Linked DNA regions of Homo sapiens: all the other regions are linked to region 3. The links are contacts of gene promoters, found by promoter capture Hi-C in blood cells and fetal thymus (Javierre and others, 2016). All regions are on one chromosome and are shown on one strand. The core of a region is centred on a gene start or on the middle of the fragment in contact, and the rest is flanking DNA. Distances in the headings are between cores, read along the strand shown. Region 1 holds the start of LOC124904439 (endogenous retrovirus group K member 18 Env polyprotein). Region 2 has its middle 19 kb from the start of SLAMF1. Region 3 holds the start of ITLN2 (intelectin 2).

Evidence for each region. Contacts are between HindIII fragments. The CHiCAGO score rates a contact against its expected background, and 5 or more counts as called.
Region 1: a fragment that was not itself captured here is called in contact with the fragment with the promoter of ITLN2 in region 3 in 15 of 17 cell types (total B cells, naive CD4 T cells, total CD4 T cells and 12 more); the score reaches 14.5 in total B cells.
Region 2: a contact is called between a fragment that was not itself captured here and the fragment with the promoter of ITLN2 in region 3, in 2 of 17 cell types (M2 macrophages and total B cells). The highest score is 8.0, in M2 macrophages.

Annotation. Positions count from the first base shown.
Region 1 is chr1:160,680,106-160,683,338 of GRCh38, reverse strand. CD48 (CD48 molecule) reads left to right here. Exons shown (of 4, transcript NM_001778.4): 3 at 1,871-2,137. It overlaps LOC124904439 (endogenous retrovirus group K member 18 Env polyprotein), which reads right to left and starts at 133. Exons shown (of 1, transcript XM_047438433.1): 1 at 1-133. RefSeq lists an enhancer at 1,816-1,905. The HindIII fragment of the contact is 2,742 bases long and covers 1-2,658 here.
Region 2 is chr1:160,664,193-160,667,110 of GRCh38, reverse strand. No RefSeq gene overlaps it. Among named protein-coding and RNA genes, the nearest start is that of SLAMF1, 19 kb to the right of the region's middle. RefSeq lists enhancers at 1,056-1,617, 1,631-1,690. The HindIII fragment of the contact is 529 bases long and covers 1,147-1,675 here.
Region 3 is chr1:160,953,333-160,956,665 of GRCh38, reverse strand. ITLN2 (intelectin 2) reads left to right here and starts at 1,857. Exons shown (of 8, transcript NM_080878.3): 1 at 1,857-1,939; 2 at 2,216-2,279. The coding sequence starts at 1,925. The HindIII fragment of the contact is 24,751 bases long and covers 1-3,333 here.

The sequences.
Region 1 (3,233 bases), core at 38-2,537, 270 kb after region 3:
ATTAGCAGAAAAAATGGTCCTCTGGTCCAGCCCAAGCATTTCTGACAGCTCAAAGCGAGCATCTTGGAGCTGGACAACCCAAGCTGGCTCAATTAATTCCATCAGCAAAGTGCCCAGTGCTGTGCTGATCACCATGGGAAATGCAGAAGGAGTGTAAGATATGAGGCTAGAACACAGGAAATGGTGAAAACCAGGATAAAAATTGCTCAATTAAAACATATAGGGGAAGTCCAGGAAACTTTTATCACCTCTGTAGTCTGAGCAATCTTTTAGCGATCTGAGATCAGCTTCACAGAGGAGACAAAACTAGAGTTCTAGAGACCAGATTGGTAGAGCTTCTAGAGCCTCTCCACACATACAACCAAGAGGCAAGCTCTGATCTGGTCAATTCTCTGCCAATTTTTAATCTTATGGGATTTGAGTTGCATTGATTCTGCAGATGTTTCACCCTGACCAGAATGAAAAGATCTCAGAGGATTGCAGGTAAACCGGCCTTAGCCAAGGAAGGACCAGATGCTGGGACTATCTCTCATTCTCTCCGGCAGCAGTACAACAGTAATAATGGTAAAATGGCCTCTAGAATGTATGCAATACTTACACTCTTCAAAAAGCAATTATCCATGACAGGTGACGTTTTATCTTACTAACATTGCGCGATGAGGTAGAGTCAGTTTACAGATGACAGCAAGGGGGTTAACTACCTTGCCTAATGTCACTCCACTAGAGTCAAGTCCAGGACCCAGGCTGGTCTCACTCCAAAACTAGTGTTTTTGTGTCTACTTGCCTCCCTCCCTCCCTCCCTCCCTTCTTTTTCTTTTTCCTCTCTTCTCTTCCCTTCTCTCTCTCTTTCTTCCTTTCTTTCTTCTTTTTTTTTTTTTTTTGAAGGTCTTCTCCTTACCCAAGCTGGAGTGCAGTGGTATAATCATAGTTTATTGCACCCTGGAACTCCTGGGCTCCAGCAATCCTCCTACCTCAGCCTCCTGAGTAGCAGGGACTAAAAGTGCACACCACCACACCTGGCTACTTTTCTTTTCTTTTCTTTCTTTTTTTTTTTTAGAAACTGAGTCTCTCAATGTTGCCCAGGCTGGTCTCTTAACTCCTGGCTGCAAGCAATCCTCCTGCCTCAGCCTCCCAAATTGCTGAGATTACAGGTGTGAGCCGCTGCACCCGGCTGTGTTTTATCCTTTCTATCTCATAACTACTTCATTCATCCTTTCATGAGATACTTATAGAATACCTGCCATGTGGCAGGGATTGTGCTAGACATGGAGATACCAAAGTTAGCAGACCAATCTGTTTATCACAATTGATGCGGCTGGAAGTTACATGAAGTTCTTCTCTGTAGCTCTGCCAGAGTCTAGAAGGCTGGCACCTGCACTGGATGGTTGTGCAAAGGACTTTGCCACGCGCAGACAGGTACCTCTTACCTTAGGACTCTTGCTGAAGCTGAATCCGATAATTGGAAAGACAGACCAGCCAAGGTGCCCGCCATGAACCGTTGCTAGAGAAGGGTCCCTGAGCATCTCAGGCAGTTGATATACTAAGTCTGACCCCAGCAAGTCTCTGGGCTGTTCGTTCAGGCTCACACACGATCATAACCCCATTTTGTTCCCAGAGCATATGATGGACTGTGGCGCCCCCTCCAGGACGCAGCTTAGCTTCACTGCCTAGAAGCCGCTCTTGCAGTGAGTCTGTGAGGCCTCAGGAGGTCAAGGCTGCTCACTGGCTCCCTCTGTAGAACTTCTTCTTCATGACTCTGCCTCCTGGGGCATTCAGGCCCCTTCCCTGGATCCCTTTGTTCTTTGTTGGCTAAACCTTCACAGCATGAATGCCTCACTGTCTCATCTTATAACATCCTCCTCACTTTCAGACCCTGTACCCAAGCCTGTCATCAAAATTGAGAAGATAGAAGACATGGATGACAACTGTTATCTGAAACTGTCATGTGTGATACCTGGCGAGTCTGTAAACTACACCTGGTATGGGGACAAAAGGCCCTTCCCAAAGGAGCTCCAGAACAGTGTGCTTGAAACCACCCTTATGCCACATAATTACTCCAGGTGTTATACTTGCCAAGTCAGCAATTCTGTGAGCAGCAAGAATGGCACGGTCTGCCTCAGTCCACCCTGTACCCTGGGTAAGAAGGATCCCTGGGAGCTGAGGGGGGCACAGGGTAACTGGAGTTGTTTTGAACAAAGAAAGGCTGGGGGTCCTATTCAGCCTCCTTGCACAGTGTGGTGGTGAATCCCTAAGGTGTCTGGGAGAGCTGGGAGACGTGGGTTCTGCCACCAGCTCTACCACCACCTCCCAGCCAGCTTACCTCAACTTCGTGGGGGCTCAGTGTTCTCACCTGCAAAGGACGTTTGGGAGAGATCTCTGATACTCCTCTTCCCTCTCCCGCTCTAACAAAGCATAGTCCTAACATCTGAGGCCAGGGTCATCATAGAGTAGACTGAAACATCAGGGTGAGCAGGGAGAAGGAAGGGCAAGTGGGCGAGCAGCTGTCTAGAGGGGCTTCATTAGACAGCCGAAGTCAGCCAAGGAAAGAGGGACCGAGGTCATTAGACCGCCAAAGTCAGCCAGGGAAAGAGGGACTGAGGAGACGGGCCTGAGAGAGGCCGTCGAGGAGGCGTGAGAGCCTGAGCCTCAGGCGAAGCTTCTCCTCCCCAGCCTGATGTTCCTAGATGAACTTAGGAAGCCAGATTCCCCTGTCTCCTGGGAGGATCCACTCATGAGTGTCACACCTGGCTCTAGATCAGGCCTACACTGGTGCTAGCATGGGACAGCTAAGGCCATGGGTTTTAGAGTCAGTCATACCTGGGGTCACTTCTAGGACTGTCACTTACTAGCTAAACAAGTTACTTAGCTTCCCCAAGTCATGTTCTTCCTAAATAAAGGACAAAATAACAGTTCCTATCTCGTGCTAAGGATTCAATGAGACAAGACACGTAACTGCCTATCACAGTGGCTGACAAGTCCTTAGTAAGCGGGAGCTAAATGAGACGCAGTCTCTTAGAGTTTTGGGGACCCTTAATAAACTTGGATCAATATCTCCAGCACTCTGGGAAATACCAGAGTCAGATACCCTCCACAATCCTGAAGTCAGATCCCTGAGCCCTAGCGTACACATTCTTCTAGAATAACTCAGACCTGAGGTGCTCACATTCACCTGTGACCCCTGTCATGCCCAGTCATCAGGGATTCTGGCCTCTGAGAACGTTGCTGTTTTGTGG
Region 2 (2,918 bases), core at 162-2,661, 290 kb after region 3:
TATCCATGTCATAAAGGAGAAGATATAGCTGTGGAAATGTTACAGTTGAAGGGTACTAAAGAGATACAACAACTAAATGCAATACCTAATACTGGACTGGATCCTGACCTGGAGGGAAAATTATGGTTACAAAGGGTCAACCGACAAAATTGAAATGCAAACAGTAGGTTAGACAAGAATATTGTTATCAATGTAAAATTTACTTAAGTGATAACTATATTGTAGTTGTGTCAGAAATTATCCTAATTCTTTACACTGATGTATTTAAGATAAAGAGCCATGCCATATGCAACCTACCCTATAATAGTTCAAATAGAGACAGAAAGAGAGAGAGAGAGAGAACTAGCTAATATTAAAGCAAAATGGGCAAAACATTACAGAGAGGTATTCACAGTCACAGCCAACTTGTAGACCCCTCCCTGCAGGATATTTATAAGCGTGTTCTTTGTACTATTATTAATAATAATTTTTTCTTGCAGCTCTTTTGACATTATTTTCAAATAAAAAGTTAACTACACAGATTAATGAAAGGTCTGCAATACTTATTTCCCCTTGATGGTCCTTCAAGATGCTGAGGGTCTGTTCTGCATTTACCACATCCTCTTCTTTCCTTGTATAGGCCTCTCCTTTTATAGACCTGTGAGTTCTCAGAGTACATTATCATTTTCAACCTTGAATTCCCATTGAAACCCTTGAATTCCCATTGAATCATCTGCCAAAGACGACAGTTTATTTTTCTGTTGATCCAATCAAGAAAAGGAGAAAGCTTCCATGAATAATAAACAGATGGGGACTACAAGTTCCTGTGACTCTGCCGGGCTCTGCCCAATGTGTCTCTCCATTCTGGCTCCCAGGCTACAGGAGCACAGCCTCTGTCAGTCTTGCTATCTCTGGCAGAGGACAGCAACACAGAGCAGAAGGACCTCTTTAAAGCCTAGGTTTAATAATGACAACATTTTCATGCTTAAATCCTTCAAGGATAGGCTCGTTGGAGAGCCTACAGGGTTCTACTGATCCTTATGTGGCTTGGTTTCTGTGATTTTCTCCTGTCCAATTTCTAGTTTGGCCCCTCCTTTGCACTGAATGCTGCAACCTTCCTGAACTGCTAGCAGTTCCCCGAATTTACTCAATGCCTTTGCTCAAGCTTTTACACTTCCTGGAATCCCCTCCCACTCCTCGTTGACCTAACAAACTCCCACTCATTTGTTAAGACTCAAACCAATTGTTGCCTCTCCAAAGTCCAAGAACCACTTCTTAGGAATAGGACTCTCTCCCTGGTCCATAATCACCGTTTCCCACCCTCTTTGTGATAGGAATGATTACTACAAAGAAGACTTAGAAATCGTCAGCAGGGAAGCCCATAAAATTTGCATTTCCTAATTTTCTGTAATCTTGGTGGAGGACAGGAAGGAAGTGGCCAGGCCAAGGCCGTCTGGCAAGTTACCAGCAGGGCTGAGGCTGGAAGTCAAATACACATTCTCCTTTCTTTGTTGATACTACTGGGTACTCCCTGGGGCTTGACCCATTGCCCTTCTTATGTTCGAAAATGTCTTCTGGACTCTGTCAAACCCTAGACAACTCAATTTTGCAGGACCTTCTAGGGGGGCAATGTTGGAGGGCTTGTTGGCTCCTAGAGAGAGCACTGGAATGAGCATGTTTGGTTGGTCTTCAAGCTTATACCTAGTACCCAGAACCACATTTCAAGCTTCTGGGAGGTTGTGTGGTATAGGGGAAGGAGCATGACCTTTGGAGCCAGACAGCCTTGAGTTTGAGTTCCAGAACCGTCATTTACCAGCTTCTGAACCTCAGGAAAAGTAAACTTTCTAAACCTCGGTTTCCGTATGTGGATGATTTTTAAAATCAGGATTAAATGAGATAACCTCAATAAATCATTCCACATAAAGTCTGCCATACAGTAAGTGCTCAATAAGTATTAGTTGCCTTCCTCTGTCCCAAACTTCTCCTTCCTCTCTTCTGGGCTGGCAACTCTAATTTTAATGAATTAAGACAAGATCTCTTAGCTTAAGTTTCCCCAAGTGTAAAATAAGAGGGAAATGGTTGTATAACTCATATGACCCAGATCACGGCTTCTTTCTATTTTGCTTTTATCAATCTTCTCAATCAGGTCTGTGTACTGAGCACAAAGGCTGCCCATGGGTGTGACATGAACAACGGAGGTTTTGCTCTCAGAGGAAGTGGAGAGGGGTTGGGAGGTACCTGGGGAAATGCAAATTTCATGGCTAAGTAGGACTTCCCTAGGTCTGCTGACTTCCAAGATGCTTCTGAGGCATAATTCCAGTGATGATGTGAAGGTGTGGGGCCAGTTCTACCCCCACCAAAAAAGGCCACAATCAGTATATTCATTCCACAAACATTTTTAGCACTTGCTGTATGCCAGGCATTGTTAGATTGGGGAACCATGAAGGTAAATAGAGCATAATGAAACTCAATCAGGATATGGGTGGATTGACCTAAACCCAAGAGATTTGGTTTCTGGTTACGGCTTTTCAAAAACTAGCCATATGGTAAGTCCCTTAGAAGTTTTAGTCTCTAAGTATTAGCTTTCTTGGGGTGAAATGAAGGAGTTGAAAATATGACTTCTATATTTGTTTGCTTTCCTTCAGATTATACTTCTCCTCTCAAAGTCAGCTCTGTGTTTTCAAATAGCCCCTGGAAATCTCCATATGCATGAACCGTAAACATTTAAACTGACCATATCCCAAGCCAACAAATAATCTTATACCCCTTGCTCTCAATTTTGCCCCTAAGTTATCTCCACCTCTTATACTTCCTTTCTTAGAGAATGGCATTGCCATCTACTGGGAAACTGAACTGGAAGTGTAAAGGCCATAGTATATAGGCCACTCTCCTTCACAGCCCACATTCAATAAGTCACCAAACCCTGAAAAATCCACCTA
Region 3 (3,333 bases), core at 608-3,107:
TGAGATGGAGTTTCACTCTTGTTGCCCAGGCTGGAGTGCAATGGTGTGATCTCGGCTCACTGCAACCTCCGCCTCCTGGATTCAGGTGATTCTCCTGCCTCAGCCTCCTGAGTAGCTGGGATTACAGGCATGCACCACCACGACCGGCTAATTTTGTATTTTTAGTAGAGACCGGGTTTCTCCATGTTGGTCAGGCTGGTCTCGATCTTTTGACCTCAGATGATCCACCCACCTCGGCCTCCCAAAGTGCTGGGATTACAGGCGTGAGCCACCGCGCCCAGCCCAAAAAAAGAGTTTTTAATAATATGATGTTGATAATTGTACTGTGGTTATACATGACATATTCCTATTATTAGAAAACACACAGTTGGCCAGGCATGGTGGCTTACACCTATAATCCCAGCACTTGGGAGGCCGAGGCAGGTGGATCACGAGGTCACGAGTTCAAGACCAGCCTGGCCAAGATGGCAAAACCCCGTATCTACTAAAAATACAAAAATTAGCTGGGCGTGGTGGTGGGTGCCTGTAATCCCAGTTACTCGGGAGGCTGAGACAGGAGAATCACTTGAACCTGGGAGGCGGGGGTTGCAGTAAGCTGAGACCATGCCATTGCACTCCAACCTGGGTGACAGAGTGAGGCTCTGTGTCAAAAAACAAAACAAAATAAAAAAAACCCATACGCATTTATTTAAAGGTAAAAGCCCATGATGTATGTACCTTACCTTCAAATGGTTCAGAAAAAAATTTTGTGTGTGTGGGTGTATTTTATATACATATATCTATATATATATAGAGAGAGAGAGAGAGAACACGAAAGATAAAGCAAATGGGGTGAAATATTAACAATAGTTGAATCTAGGTAAAGGGCATATATGTGGCTTTATATTATTGTTATTTTTGCAACATTTAATAAATTTCAAATTGTTTCTAAACAGAGTTAATAAAACAATAAAATTACAGCAGGATACATGCAATAATTAGTGTTTGGACAGTGTATAGTGGGACAAAGGAAGGATCCATCAGCTTTGTCTGGTGATGGGGGTGTCAGGGAAGGCCTCATAGAGAAATTGGAGGAAAGATTGGAAGGATGATGTCTTCTTTTCCCATTTATTTATTATTATTATTATTATTATTATTTTGAGGTGAAGTCTTGCTCTGTTGCCCAGGCTGGAGTGCAGTGGAGCAGTCTTGGCTCACTGCAACCTCCACCTCCTGGGTTCAAGCAGTTCTCCTGTCTCAGCCTCCAGAGTAGCTGGGATTACGGGTGCACGCCACTGCACCCAGCTAAATTTTTGTATTTTTAGTAGAGACAGGGTTGCACCATGTTGGCTGGTCTTGAACTCCTGACCTCAGGTAATCCGCCCACCTCGGCCTCCCAAAGCGCTATGATTATAGGTGTGAGCCACTGTGCCTGGCCAATTATTATTCTTAATTAATTAATTTATTTTTCATGAGGTGTCACCTCAGTCTAAAAGGATGATTTCTTGACAGAGTTGTGTCTAGGGGGCCAGGGCATCTGGGGGAGGTGGGAGAGGGAGAACGCAGGGGAGGATTGTGACCTATCCACGAATCTGATTAGATACTGCTACATTGTATGGCCTGCCTTGGCAAAGCAGGATGCCCCTCCTCAGATGGCGACAGTCACCTGTGTGGCCAGGAACACAGCTCCCTGCTCCTCCAGCCAGTCGCACGTCCTTTCTCATTTCCACGGTCCCAGGCTCAGGTACCCTCAGAGGGAAGGGCTTCAGAGGGAGGGGCTAGCAGCCTAGGCTGCTCAGGGTTGGGCTGGGCAGGGCTCAGGTGGTTTGGCTCTCCACAGCTCTCCACATAAAGGGACCAGCACTTCACCCTTCATCAGGATCCTCTGCAGGGGAGCTCCGAGTGTCCACAGGAAGGGAACTATCAGCTCCTGGCATCTGTAAGGATGCTGTCCATGCTGGTGAGAAAAATGTTTTTGATCCATGTGTGTGGGAGCAATGATGCCAGCTCAGGTCTCAGTTTTAGAGATTTAGAGTTTCAGGGAAATGAGCCCATGGCCCCTTGGGTATTTGTAGTGTTGGACAGCCGTGGGGCATATTCCAGGAGGTTTTAGAATGCTCATGAGCCCATCACTTTCCATTTGAGGATTCCTGACTCAGAAAGGTTAGGAAGTAAGAACGAGAGGATGACAAAGGAAGGGCCAGCCAGTGACCTTGTGCATCTTGTTTTTCCTTAGAGGACAATGACCAGACTCTGCTTCCTGTTATTCTTCTCTGTGGCCACCAGTGGGTGCAGTGCAGGTAAATGGCTTCTGAGAGTAGGAGCTGCAGTTTCCTGGGCTCCCCTCTGCTGTGCAGGGCCTGGAGGGAGTAGAGCTGGGCAGGGCTCTGAAGTCAAGGGTCAAAGGGGAAGTTCTGGAGAGGCAGGGAACCCAGGCTAGGCAGCCAACTTGAGGTGTGGACTGGGTGCTGATTTCTGGCCTCTCCTGGGGTCTGGTCTGAAGCAGTCAGGGTGTTAGCTCAGGTATTTCCTAGGGCTTGATTCTCTGCTTCTGTGGCTGTGAGGGGTTCATGGGGTGAGAGAGTAAGAACTGTGTCCCTGCTCAGCTGCTCTTGTGGCCTTGGCCTTGGGATCTCCAGAGGCAGCTGGGTGATCAGTGCTGTGTCCAGGGTACACCCTCCTCTAGTCGCAGAGGAGGATATTGTGAGAATAGAATCCTCACAATTCTATTCTTCCAGTAGGCACAATAGTGATATTTTTTCATTGATACTGGGTTTATTGTTTATTTCAATCCATCAGTTAAAAAAAGCACATTTACATATGTCATCTCATTTGATCTCCATGCGTATAAAGAAGTTATTAATGACATCTTAAAGATGAAGAAAAAGGATCAGAGATGTTAAGTGTCTGCTCAAGGAGGCACTGTCATCAGGGTTTGTCTGGATTTTACCTTGAGTCCTGTAATTTTTTTTTTTTTAGACGGAGTCTTGCTCTGTTGCCCAGGTTGGAGTGCGGTGGCGTGATGTCGGCTCACTGCAACCTCCGTCTCCTGGGTTAAAGAGCTTCTCCTGCCTCAGCCTCCCCAGTAGCTGGGATTACAGGTGTGCACCACCACACCCCAGCTAATTTTTGTATTTTTAGTAGAGATGGGGTTTCACCATATTGACCAGGCTGTTCTTGAACTCCTGATCTTGTGATCCACCCTCCTCGGCCTCCGAAAGTGCTGGGATTACCGGCATGAGCCACTGTGCCTGGCCTGAGTCCTGTAATTTTACACTTTTTCCCGCTCTGCCAGGCTTTTGGAATGATTTCTAGGCTTTTAGACTTATATACATGGCCCTTCATCCACTGGCC